3 separate regions of the Homo sapiens genome follow, and regions 2 and 3 are each linked to region 1. Evidence: promoter capture Hi-C in human tissues and cell types (Jung and others, 2019). All regions are on one chromosome and are shown on one strand. Each heading gives the region's core, a stretch centred on a gene start or on the middle of the fragment in contact. The rest is flanking DNA. Distances are from core to core; before and after follow the strand shown. Region 1 holds the start of TMEM33 (transmembrane protein 33). Region 2 has its middle 12 kb from the start of ATP8A1-DT. Region 3 overlaps ATP8A1 (ATPase phospholipid transporting 8A1).

Region 1 (4,567 bases), core at 632-3,131:
GATGAATCCAGCTTACTGTGCTCAGTTTCTCAACAAATATTATGACTGGGCACCACAGCTTGAAAGTTAGTTTTAGAACATTCTCCTTAAAATCTATTTGTTCAGGTTGTTTATTCTGCAATAAATCATTGAGCTATGCGTTTCATTTTGTACACACTTATGTATATTATACAATTTTAAAAGTTTAAGAAAGTCTATTGGTATACATTTTTTAAGAGTAAACTGTCCAACCATCAGGCAAAAAAAAAAAAAAATCACTAGATCTTTGGGTGAAAAATTGTTGAGGAGCAATATTCACACAGTGTCACAGTATCATGCCAAAGAACACTTTTTAATTAGAAAGGAAAAAAGGTATCTTTACAATGGAGAAACTGGTGGACACCACCTTAATCAAATAATCAAACAAATTCTGCAATGATGGGATAAATCAATGTAAAATGCTTCCTGATATATAATATAGATATACATATTAGATGTACCTATATATGCTGCAAAACATGTCTGGACTCTTGAAAACTATCAGTATCTTAAAAGACAAAAAAGGGGAGGAGAGGGCAGAACTGTTCTAGATTAAAAGGCAGTAAACAAGATATGGCCAGTAAATTGAATGCATGCTTTCTGAGATAGGGTCTCGCTCTGTCACCCCAGGCTGGAGCGCAAAAGCACAACCCACCTCAGCCTCCTGAGTAGCTGGGACTATGCTGGGACTATAGGAGCGCACCTCCACGACCGGCTAATTTATGTTTGTTTGTTTGTTTGTTTGTTTTGAGAGAAGGTTTTGCTCTATCACCCAGGCTGGAGTGCAGTGGCGCGATCTTGGCTCACGGCAGCTTCAACTTCTCGGGCGCAAGCGATCCACCCGCCTTGGCCTCCCAAAGTGCTGAGATTACAGGCGTGAGCCACCACGCCCCGCCTAATTTCTTTGATTTCTAGTAGAGATGAGGTCTCGCTATGTTTCCAAGGCTGGTCTCTAACTCCTGAACTCAAGCGATCCTCCCGCCTTGGACTCCCAAAGTTCTGGGCTTACAGGAGTGAGCCACTGCGCCAGCCCATCGATGCATGCTTTTTGACAGAATCCCAGATGAAGAGAAAGCAGCTTTAAAGGACAATTATGGAAATTTGCACATGGATTTTATATTAGGTAATATTTCCCAAATGTGGTAACTGCATTGTGGTCACACAGAATAATACTTAACTACTTATGGATTAAAAAGTAGAGGACAGCAATGCTCCGGGCACAAATAACTTGTTAGCTCCAGATCAGCATCTTAAAAAAATTACAAAAGCATAATGATATTTCTCTTCATAAAGAACAAAGTGAAGAAGAAAAAGACCACCGCTCTCCTCCCTTTGCATAATTTCTATATACGATTGTATAAACTAGGCAGAAACGTTCTTTGCCGGCACTCGTGTGCTCCACGTGGTGTGTGTCATGGATCATGTGTGTCATGGCACAATCTCATGCGGCATCTTTAACCTTGGGGCCTACGGTAAACAAAAGACCGAGGTGGGAGAAGAGGAAAGAAGGCCCAATTTCCATGGCATACAGGTGGGGGCCACCAGCTCCAGGTCAGCCTATTGTCGCTTCAGAAACAAACTTGTAGTTCCCTCCATATCTTCGCTCAGGACCTCCCCTCTCCCCGCTCCAACTTCCCCACCCCAACTCATTAATCCCATTCCTGAATGCACTGAGCTTCTGGAACGCCTCGGGACTCGCAACGCTTCCTGCTTCTTCCTAACTCTTGCAAATCAAGCCAGACTACCCTGCCCTCGCACTTACCACAGCGCCCGCCCCTTGGGGGCCGTTCGGGGTCGTATCTGCCATGGGGGCTCACACTAGCGTCTGCGACGCCGCAACCGCGAAGAGAGAAGAAAGGGGAGAGAAAACGTCAGCGCTGGGGCCAGGACCCGGGTACCGGCTTCCCTGCCTCGCGCCACACACAGGCCGGATGCACCCTGCCGGAACTCTGAGCCTCCACCAGGGAAGGGTCTCGCTCGCCTGGTGCAGCCGACTGGATCCAGGGCACCCGCAGCAGCCGGGAGGTACCTGTCCCGCACCGCCGAGATCAAAGCGGTGTTTCCAGAAAGACGGGAGCGAAGGTGGAGCTTCGGGGTGAAGCCCTAAAGAGCCAACCTACGCCGCCGGCTCCAGGTTATTGCCGAACCCGGAAGTGCTCCTTTCATTTCCGTGGGGAAGAGGCGGTGACAAAGAGGGGGAAACGGGAGCGGTGCCCAGAGGCATGACGGGAAGTGTGGTTTTTTTCTCCTAATTTGAGCCCCACCTGTCCTTCCGCCGATTGGCCCAGTGAGCTAAGAAATCAGGATGGGGGAGCAACTTTTGCATTAAATACAGCTCACAAATGATCTTTCCTGCCCATTCTCAAACCATGAAATTTCCGCACTTCCTGATATAGAGGCCTCAGAAACATCTTTGATTCCTTTCTCCAGGGGCTTACTAAGCCCGTTGGTTCTACGTCTATTATTAATTCTTTCAATAAGTATTTATGAGGCCTGCTATGTGACAGGCTCCATACTTGGCACGGCGGATAAAAAGAGGAATATGACACAGATTGCAAAAGAGAAACAAGTAAACGGAAATCAGAGCATAGTGATTGTGTAATATGTGTAGAGGCTGATTTAATCACAGGGAGCACAGAGGACGGTACCTAAATCAGAAGGGATCTGGGGAGGTTTCCTGGAAAAGGTAAGTCCGGGCCTTGATCTTGAACGACAAAAAGTTGGCTGAAAGTGTTACTGGTGTAGGGTGTCCAAGTTCTTGGCGTTTTGAACATAGAATTGGACAAAACGCACAAAGCAAGGAAAGAATAAAGCAACAAAAGCAGAGATTTGTTGAAAATGAAAGTACACTCCAGAGTGTGGGAGAGTGAGACAGCAGCTCAAGGGCCCTGGATACAGAGTCTTCTCGGGTCCAAATACCCCCTAGAGGTTTCCCATTGGCCACTTGGAGTTCACTTCATGTAAATGAAGTGGTGGCCCGCAATCAGTCTGAATGGTTGCGCAAAGCAACCAATCAGAGGCTGAAGAAGTTACAAAGTTACACTTCTATGCAAACGTCTGATTGGTTACAAAAAGCAACCAATCAGAGGTACTTTCAATTTCCCAAATCTGCGCAGAACAGGTTGGGGCTTGCAAAGGGAGTAGTATCTGGCCCTTTATTCACTTAAGCGTGGACAGTAAGGATTTTCCTTCAATTTAGTTCTAGGAAGTCAGCGAGAAAGGGCATTAGGTTCCCTACCGCCATACCATATTCTTCTGCCTTAAAACGGGAAGGGAACTCCATACAGAGTAACAGAAAGTGCAAGAAGTAACAGGACAGCGAGAGGACTAGTTGAGTGTGACCAGAATGATGGTACCAGTCAGGGGATTGTGAAAGATTTGCGCTAGAGAGGCAGGCAGGGGTGTACTGAGGAAAGGATCTGAACTTGACCCTGAAATCCAGAGAACCATGGAACAATTTTAATCAGAAGTGTGACATCCTGAGATTTAGAAAGTTCTCTCTGGCAACAGGGTGGAGGATGAACAGAGGGGCAAATTAAAAGTCAGGAAATTCGTTGTGAAGCCATTTATATATATATAAACTAAAAATAAAATCCTAAGTAAGGGGTCTGTCGACTGACTGGATAGATCCCTTTCTTGGCCAAGGGGACCCCAGCCATGATGGGACAGGAGATCAGACATGCCTCATTATACCCCCTCCCTTTTGTAGTTTAGACACAACTGACTAGCAACTACTTAGGCGTGGAAAGTTAGGGTTTTCCTTTCAAATTAGTTCTAGGAAGTCAGCCTATGTTTAACATGTTAATGTTACAATAAAGATCATAACATTGACAGAACAAACTCTTTGTGGGAATAGGATACCAAATTATAAACAGGACCTAAGGCCATGCCAGGCAAGGGTTAAGTCATGCACCCCCTACACTTAAAAAATAAACTATGTTCTACCACAAGAGGTTTTTTTTTTCCCTCTGGCAGCTAAACAACCACTGGCCTAGAGAGAAGCAATATTAAAACAATTACAACTAATCCAGCTCACAGACACTAACTGAACCCCTGCTATACCAACCATAGCTACAGCTTTGATTGCACAAGAGACTGATTTCAGTAACGTTCTCCAGATAAGACCACTGACCATAGGCTGGTTCTGGCCACTTTACAGAGGCCATGCACTTGTGTGCCTTCGTCTCTGCTTCACCTTTTGAGGTACAGAGCCTAACTGTAATACATTAAATATTAAGTCTCCACCCCAAGGTGAACACAGGTTGTATGTAACATGCATGTTGTTCCATACGCATGTATCAGGACTACTTTTATGAATATTCATAGCTCTTCCTGTAACCTGTTGAATATGTATGTTTAGCCAACCTATTCAGCATAAAGCTCCTACCCCAGCTCCTCTTCCTTTAAAGTGCCTGTCTCTGGTCCTTGCTGGAGGCTGTGCTTCCCAGCCCATGAGAGGGCCACCTTGCAGGCTGTATCTCCTTATAAGAAATAAAGTCTCCTTTTCTGAACATATAGATCTTGTGAGTTTTAAGTTAACACATACGTG
Region 2 (4,567 bases), core at 1,027-3,526, 730 kb before region 1:
TTTAATCAGTGTGTTGTGGTTATGTAAGAGAATGTGCTTGCCTTAGGAAAACACACTTTGAAGTATTTAGGAGTAACAGGATTCATGCCAGCAACTTTCTCCCAAACAGTTCCGAAAAAACAATAGAGAGAAAGAAAGAGAGAAGAATAAAGCAAATACCGTATAGTAAAAATGTTCTTTGTTGGATCCTAGCAACTTTTCTGTAATCTGAAATTATGTCAAAATTCTAAAATTGAAATGCAAAACTTTAGGGTAAATATGATGTCACCACAAAAAATAGTTCACCCTGTTCACAGAGACTCTCCTTGAGGGCACATGCCAGTCTCTAGACTTGCTTCCCTGTCCTACTGTTCAATCATCTTTTCCCCACAAATGTTCTCACAGCTTCTCACTGCCAACCCCTTTCCCACTCCAGAAAACCCTTACCATCTTGAGACCAGTGCAATACACTGAACTCAATAAGCTAGTGCTCAGAGACTGGGTAATTATGACTAGAATGAAATAAACAGAGGGAGGGGGCTAGAGTGGATGAGGGTGGCATATTAAGAACCTGCCTGAGATGAGGTCCTTCCATTGGTGTGACATGTCTCACCATCCTTCCTGCTCAGTTAGAAAATAATTATTGTATCATTCTGGCATATCTCTTTTCTTGACACACACATGCAAAAGAACAAGGAATGATTTTTCAGAAACTACCAAATAGGTTCGTACTGAAGAGGAGATTGTTCTATAAAAATTGAATGATCTTCACACACTCCCTTTTCCAGCCAGGAGACAGCACTTTTTGTTACGAATGTTCATTCCAACTACTACTCTCATATTCATCCTCTAGTTTCCAAACACAGGGAGAGGCTTATTGGTGGGTAAGACAAATCTATCTCTTCAGGAAACAGAGCTGTCTGTCCTTGCTTAGCAAATTCTGGCCACCAAAAGACCCAAGGAAGCTCTGAAATTACAGATTTTCTATACCTTAGTCTAGATAAATATTTTAGGTTGGGTGTTCCCACAGGAATGCAGCAGGAGAGGACATCACCCTCCATCCATAATAACTGCTGGGGATGTTGGGAGTGGGCAGATATGGAGTGAGGATTTGGAGCTGCCAAGCTCCACCTTTCCTCTGGGTCTTTGTTCAACGTGGTCTCCTCTTCCTGGAATCCATCCCCAACCTTAGTGTTTACTGTCTATTCTCCCTTCCTAATACCTTTCCATTTTGCACTTTGTTTCCACCCAGTTGCTGTCACCCTCATTCAGGCTGTAAGCTTAGCCCTTAACCTGAAAGGTACCAGTTAGAGGAAGCACTGGGAGGTAAACAAAATCCAAATCAATGTCATTAAAAGAACTATACCTGCCAGTCCTAATAAGAAAAAATATGAAAATAGTTTAGAGTGGGGTGACACAGTAATAAACTAGTTGAAATCAACCAAATGGACCAAATGTGGTAGAGAAAAGTATTAGGTAATGGATGACTTGAATCTGGAGGACTCAGGCACATTGACAGCCAAAAATGTCATAAAATTTTCAAGGATATCTGTAATGCTAGAGCTCAAATGTCTCAGATGACATCTCTGGTTAACATTCAACCTCAGCCAGCTAAAAGTATAACCTCCGAAAGTGCTTAGCATGCTAACCCTGAAATTGTTTGGATAGCATAATTGTTTCCAAGAGAATCAATAGCTGTGAACCTGTAGAATTACATATACATATATAGGATTAAGTAAATCAAACTTATAGTACTAATATTTTTAGTAAGGTTTAGAAATAGTCACTATATTTAGGAGAATTTGACCTGTTACTAAAATTATCTGTGTAATTCCAAATTAAAGTGATGAGACTAATTGACAAAGATTCTATGTCAAAATTAATCAGTATTAGAGAGTTTATAAAAGCCTAAGACATATCTTCTATAATTTAAATTTATCGTATTATGATAGTTATTTCAGTACTGAGAAGGCTTTTTCAGATGACTAAAGCACTTAAATATGAAAAGGAAATGTATCAACTTTGTCAGTATAGTTTAAAATGTTTAAGGGGGTTTAAGTTTATAAATGGAATCAAACATTAATTAAACACCGCTTCAAAAGTAATTTTCAAAATTTGTGAGATGTCTAAGTACAATAAAATAATTAAGTTAAATCTACTTAGATGTCTAAGTATACTAAAATAATTAAGTTAAATTTCAAAGCTTAAAGAAGAGCTATGTTTGTTACATACAAATTTAATAAATTGAATATTAAATTTTTAAAATGAAGTTTGCTTTGGATAATCCTTTTGGGACCCCAAAACTACACATAAGTACAGAAAACTTCCATTGACAAGATGGCCACAGGCGCATCCTAACCGGGCTCTCCTTCTGCGCTTTCCCTCACGGTGTAGTTTGAGCATAGCTAAGAGATGATGTTCCCAAAATACCATTATGGAACTTGTCTCTTCAAAAATCAATAATTTTTTTACTTTTCCCTTTTTTTTGTATAAACAAAGGAAAAACTAAAAGAAATCTTTTCGTTTTACTTCATCCATTGCTTTGTTAGTATCTTATTCACCTCCAAGATTCCATTTATTTTTATCCAGAAAGTCACCTTAATAAGTTACTACCTCACAAAATTAATTTCAGCCTCTATTCTCTATTGTACTCCGTTTAATACTATTTCGGTTCACATTTAACAAGTTCTTTGCTAAGTGTCAGCAGTTTAAAACCCTGTTTCATGTAACCTGTTTCTAGGATGATGCAAACTCTGGTTTTTTTTTACATTTAAAAACACAATTTGGACAAAATGTATTATTTCGTCCATGGAAAGCTCCAGAATTTTCATAATGCAACCTTGAGAAAGATTTCTGAGATTTACTGAAAAGTTTGGCAGAGAATGCTGGCTGCCTACCTGCTAATCCATTCTCTCCTTCCCTTAAGTATCAGAATCCCAAATTTTTATCTAGGTACATTACTGGTTGAATAAATAACTAATTTCCCATCCTCCCTATCTGCTACACATGGCCAGGTGATGAGCCAATAAGAGCTGAACATAACTTTTATCTGAGGCTTCAGAAGTAGATGCTGAAAGAATCTGACTCAGTGTGCTAGGACTATGAGGTGACCTTGAGGATGGAAGCTATGTGTTAGCATTGCAGAGTACAAATAGAAGTCTCCGGATCTCTGAAGGCAGTGTAGAGATATCTTCAGACTTTTTTTATATGAGAGACAAATGAACCTCTACCTTGTTTAAATTACTGCTACTTTGGGATTTTCCATTATGTGCAATTGAACCTTTGGGATTTTCCATTATGTGCAGTTGAATATTTGGGGATACAATCAATATATACATTTGTAGACTACCTTTCCAACAGTACAATATACAGTGGTGATTTTATATTTATTCATTTACATAATGACCCAAAGAGGCACATTGTTTTAAATATTACTAATGAGCATTTTTACAGCAAGTTTCTTGAAACCAGTAAATAGAATCCTCCATCACAATTAAATATCTAACATTGATGCCTTTTGTCATACAAATGATAGATTACATAAACTTGCATTATTAGACTTTACCAAGAAAGGCATGACTGAAGAAAATGCCTCTAGTAACTATAATCGTTAATTTTATGTCACTTACAGAGTAGGAAAAATGTTGGATGTACTAAATTAAAATAATAACGGCAGGTAGGGCACGGTGGCTCAGGCCTGAAATCCTAGCACTTTGGAAGGCTGAGGAGGCCAAATCACTTGAGCTCAGGAGTTTGAACAAGTCTGGGCAAATGTTGAAACCCCGTCCCTACTAAAAATGCAAAAATTAGCCAGGTATGGTGGCAGACGCCTGTAATCCCAGCTACTCAGGAGGCTGAGGCACCAGAATCGCTTGAACCAAGGAGTCAGAGGTTGCAGTGAGCCAAGCTCACACCACTGCACTCCAGCCCGGACAACCGAATGAGACTCTAAATAAATAAATAAAAGCAACTAAAATTTGTATTGTATGTTGCAATAAAATATCTCAGGTACTTCTCACAATAATCCTATGAAATAGGCGTTATAATTATCCCCATTTGACAGATGAGGAATCTGAGGCAGAGAAAAGTTGGTAACTTCTCCAAAATGAAGCATCTGGCAAGTGGTATAACCTGGATCAGAGTCTAGCAGTTTGACTGCAGAGCCCGCATGTTAACCCACTGAGCTAATCTGAGGTTCAGAAAGGTCTTCAAATGACATTCCCATGATTAAACCACTCAAAAGTTCCAGAGCTGAGATCCAAACCCACATCTTCTGATTTCAGTTCTGTTCCTTAAGTCAGGTACTCTTCCCTCCTCAAACGTCAGAATTTCTGACTCAGTAGGAAATTAACCCAACATCTAAAAAGTTCAAGTATATCTATATCTATACTTACATCTGTAACTAGAGAGGGAAGAGTATCTGTTTTTTCTGCAGATAGACTATTGTCCTTTATTCTCCATAGTCCCAGAAGTATTACTATAAATGCCTCATATTATATTCAAACTTAACTTTTTAAAATCACCATTTCCTCTGTTAATTGAACAGACCTTTATCATCTCCAGTCTGGTTTCTCTACCTCTAATCCAT
Region 3 (4,567 bases), core at 1,520-4,019, 580 kb before region 1:
CGTGGGTGCTCCAGGCAGGGCTTGTTGTGACTCTGAGGATCCACTAAGCACAGTTTGAAAACCATGTATTACATTTGTATGTGGACTTTTAGAAAACAAATTCCTCAAAAGATCAGTACATCATTGTGCCCGTATGCAAGATGTTTCTGAACATATTTGAATTGATATGTCATTGCCACATTAATGGTAGTATTATATTCACAACATTCAAAATGTAAAAGATTTGTAAAGTTTTTCCTAAAATAATAATTTAGTACAAAATAAGAGGAAATGTTATAATAGGATTAAGGTTATACTTTTAAATGCTGCTCTCTGCCTCTTGTTCCTCCAATGTTTGTTCAAACTGGTAATTCAGTTTTTAAAACTAAGTTGAATCCTTATTCCTTTGGGTAGTGTAACTCCTAGCATAAGCTGAAAAAAATATCCAAATAGACCAAAAATATACAACAAGGCATTTATCCTTTGGTTGTGATGCTTAGTTACTCAGGTATGTTACTACCCAGCACACTGAGCACTAGAATGTGCTGCCTTCACTCTTGGGGAACACTATGGGAAGGAGGATATGGAAAGTGAAAAAGCCCACCGGCTATTGTTATCCCTATTGACAGTCATCTCGAGATGAGAGGATTTAGGACTTTTAAATCTATCTATAAAATATAATTATCAGCTCTGTTCCAAAACTGTACTGTTTGAGCTCCAATACTTGCATTCATATGGTAAGCTTTTCAGGACATTTCTAAAAATTTTAACACTGAGAGTTGTTTCACGAATCAGTTGCCGACACATCTATTTTGTTTATTTTTTCTTTTGCTGTTACTAAATAAATCAAGAGGTGACATTGATTAGTAGGAAGGCCTAACTTGTTCAGGAATAAGAAAGCTCACATGGTTAGAATGCAGATGGGATTATCATATGGGATATTTCAGTTGTCTTGACTCACTTTGCGAAGAATTGCAGGTTCACATTGGGCATTGTGGACAGTAACACCTCTTAGTCTCTTTTTGTCACCACTTGAGAGAATTTACAGTGGTCTCATTCTTTAGACAACAAACTTGACCTGTTTTATCTCACCCTCGTTCTTTTGAAAGGTAGTCAACATATTAGGACTCATAATTTTAGATTGGGAAACCACTTATAGTGTCAGCCTATATTTTTTAAATCAGAATTTGTTTTTTTTTTTTTTTTTTGAGACGGAGTCTCACTCTGTTGCCAGGCTAAAGTGCAGTGTCGGCTCAGTGCAACCTCCGCCTCCTGGGTTCAAGCGATTCTCCTCCCTCAGCCTCCTGAATAGCTGGGACTACAGGCGCCCGCCACCACACCCAGCCAAATTTTTGTATTTTTAGTAGAGACGGGGTTTCACCATGTTGGCCAGGATGGTCTCGATCTCCTGACCTCGTGATCCACCCCCCCTTGGCCTCCCAAAGTGCTGGGATTACAGGCCTGAGCCACCGTGCCTGGCCTAAATCAGGTTTTTAAATTAAAATTTTGTATTTCCTCAAGAAGAATTGTAAATAACAGAATAATTATGAAGTTCCTTGTTTCATTGGCAGGGGTTTCTCTGAAATTTCTCACCTTTGATCTGTCACTTTAATATATCAGGAGCCAGGGTGATATCACTTCTTTTTGGTCTGAGCTTCTATTCTTTGTTAAAATTTGTTTACTTTTATTCTAACTTATTTCTAAGACACATAAATTATGTTTTGTCTCATATTCATACTATGCTACTAGATTCCTTTGAAAATTAATAGTATAGAAGTCTCTGGTCTTTCTTCCTTATTTTATAATTAAACCATTGTTTGAAATATGAAGGCGTGCCTTCGTGGAATACATAATTTTTTGAAAATGTTTAATATTTATTTGCTTCAATAGAAAAATACAATTATGTCTTTAGTACTGCATAGATTACCTACTAATAATTTCTGTGTTTCTGAAAGTAAATCATTTATCTTGAGAATTACAGAAAACAGCGTAAGCTATAATACCTGCCTAGATTCATCACTGATTAAAGCAGTATTTCCCTGGTGATAAGATTTTTATTTTTCTCTTATTATGATGCGTGGATTGGGAAACTTTTTTTTTTAATGGAAACTTATCCAATGCTTTTATCTGTTCAAGTTTTTCTAAAATAGGTTATGGGTTAGAGGATCATTTCTGAGCTTAAGAGTAAACTCAGAACACTGTAACTCTGCTGTCAAGCCTTTTTTGATCAGATAGCAATGTTGTGTTTTATGTGCATTTTGTAGTTTGTGATTGATGTATGTCATCCACTAGATTGAAGTTTCACGAAAGCAGGGACTGTGTTTATCATATTTATCACTGTGTCTCCAGCGCTTGACTGACTAGCCTATGTTAACCACTCAATAAATATTTGATGAATAAATGAATTATTCATTTAAATAATTAATTCAGAAGTTGGAGCTTAATAAGTACTTGCTTAATGAAAGCCTGCCCCCTATTAACAAATCTAGTTCATGCTTTCCATGCATTGAAGGCACTGGTATCAAATGTGCTATCACTAAGGATTAATTTAGGGGTATGTTAGAAAAGAAGCCAATAATTTTACAGAAGGCATTCTTTAGAAGTTTAGATTCGTTCATTTATAAAACCTGTCTTCAAAGTTACTTGATATATAAATGTGAGAAAATCATGGGTTGGAAAGATTCAGCAACAAATATCTGAGCACCGCTGCGTGGCAGGTTCTGTTCTAGGCTCTAGGGCTCAGCAGGGAGAGGATAGAAGAATTTCTGCCTTTTGTTTCAGTGGTGGGAGATAGGTAGTGAACTTGTAAACTAAAACAATGTCATTCCAGAGAGGCTTTAGTGCCCTGGGCACTGAGATAAGGCACTAAGATAGGACAGTGAGGTAGTGATCCTTTTTTACATTATTTCCTTTACCCCTCCCCAAAACGTGGTTGACATTTGGGGGATGGTTAAAGAGTCCCTTGATGTGGCGTAATATAGATCAACCATTACACTCAGTGTGACTAAACAACAATTTAGTGCCCTTTGCAACATATGGCAACAAATGGTTTAGAGGATTCCTAGAGAAATATAAAACTTAATGGAAAACAGGACTTTTCTTGAGCATTCATGACTGCCAAGTTCACAGTAACTTCTGTATTAGAATGGAATGCTTCTTCAGATAAAACTACCACATCTATTCTTAGTAGCTGCACATATCACTTTCATTTGTGCTAAAAATGAAATGAAAATTTACATGATGTATGGGTGATTTCGTGGTTTAAAATTCCAGTAGTTTCCTGTTCTATTTGCTTAAGAACATTTATAGTTAGCTCATTTAATTAGACCTGCCACTTTCTGAGCATTTACTAAGCTCCGCAATTTTCACTCTTTACCCTGATTATTTAGTTGGAGGGCCTCTAAAGTGAGACACAACGTGATCCATTGGGGTAAGCAAGAAAATATTAGAACTTCTATTTGTTTTATTTCATCTTTTTTAGTTTTTGCATTTTATAATGTGAATAATTTATTAATTTTAACAATGTTTTACAAAAATATAACTGTGTCATAAGTACGTATTCAACATTTTTTCCTAGTATACTCAAAAATGTTTGTGAGATAACTGGTGTAATTTCATCTGCAGAACATCCTTATTAAATCTACGTTATTAGGTTTATCTTGCTGTTGTGAAAGTTGATTCTTAGGTAAGTTAAGTTACTTGCTCAGGGACCCATATCCAGTGGTTGGCAGAGCAGGGATGCAAATCCCTGTTCTGTCTTAATTCCAGATCCCATGCTAATAATCTGTAAGTTACGTTGCCAACTTGCTTTTGAAGAAAGCAAGAATGTGTATAAAATATTGGAGACTTGAAAAATAAAATGAAATCAATTGTGCAGTTGCATAATCACTAGATCACTCAGGGTGAGAAGTGGGGCTCATCAGCCTGTTTGAGACTCAGCTACTTAGTGAGGCAGCCTCTATGTACTCTATGTACTGTATTCCATTTTCCTTGAAAACAAGATGGAAATATGTTTTTCATGATTTTCCCTCAACTGGCCGTTAGAATCTTCTTATTTAAAGTACTTAAGATTTCCTTAGATCTCTAATCACATGCTCCTCCTTTCTGGTAGGATAGGTTCCTTCTTATGAATGCTTCGTGGTAGATTTTCCACCCTGGGTATTGCTGTCTTCTCACTCAGATAAGATGGATGCGTTGTTTTTGCAAGCTACACCCAATCACCTCTCACATCCTGATTCCTTTCAGCTGGGTGTGTGAATTCTGGCCTTATAACTAAGCCCTTGGCTTTGTGAGTTCAAATGTGATTTCTATGGTTTGAAAAGCACCAAGTTAAAATCTATTTCTTGGCCTTAGAAAAATTAACCAGTTGAATGATTTCTCCAGAAGTAGGCAAATGAGCCATTCCAATGGTTTAAGGACTTAATGCTCTTAGTCTTAGTACTGTAGGCCAGAATAAAGGGAAAGGAAAGAAGGTGTTAGGTCTCTTTAAAACAAGGATGATACCCAGTGGAATGCAGAACACAGAGGAGCCCAGCAACCTCTGAGAACCAGTGTTGTAGAATGCCTCTGAGAATCCCACAGCACATCC

The links. Contacts are between HindIII fragments. The study calls those that stand out against the background at their distance.
Region 2: a contact is called between a fragment that was not itself captured here and the fragment with the promoter of TMEM33 in region 1, in 1 of the 25 tissues and cell types used here (dorsolateral prefrontal cortex).
Region 3: a contact is called between a fragment that was not itself captured here and the fragment with the promoter of TMEM33 in region 1, in 1 of the 25 tissues and cell types used here (lymphoblastoid cells).

Annotation. Positions count from the first base shown.
Region 1 is chr4:41,932,743-41,937,309 of GRCh38, reverse strand. TMEM33 (transmembrane protein 33) reads right to left here and starts at 1,881. Exons shown (of 7, transcript NM_018126.3): 1 at 1,781-1,881. The coding sequence starts at 1,825. LOC105374426 (a long non-coding RNA gene) reads left to right here and starts at 2,635. Exons shown (of 3, transcript NR_188374.1): 1 at 2,635-2,704. RefSeq lists enhancers at 1,492-1,561, 1,572-1,621, 1,862-2,041. The HindIII fragment of the contact is 16,795 bases long and covers 1-4,567 here.
Region 2 is chr4:42,666,805-42,671,371 of GRCh38, reverse strand. No RefSeq gene overlaps it. Among named protein-coding and RNA genes, the nearest start is that of ATP8A1-DT, 12 kb to the right of the region's middle. The HindIII fragment of the contact is 4,220 bases long and covers 167-4,386 here.
Region 3 is chr4:42,513,912-42,518,478 of GRCh38, reverse strand. The region is part of intron 22 of ATP8A1 (ATPase phospholipid transporting 8A1); the gene reads left to right. Among named protein-coding and RNA genes, the nearest start is that of SHISA3, 120 kb to the right of the region's middle. The HindIII fragment of the contact is 5,832 bases long and covers 1-4,567 here.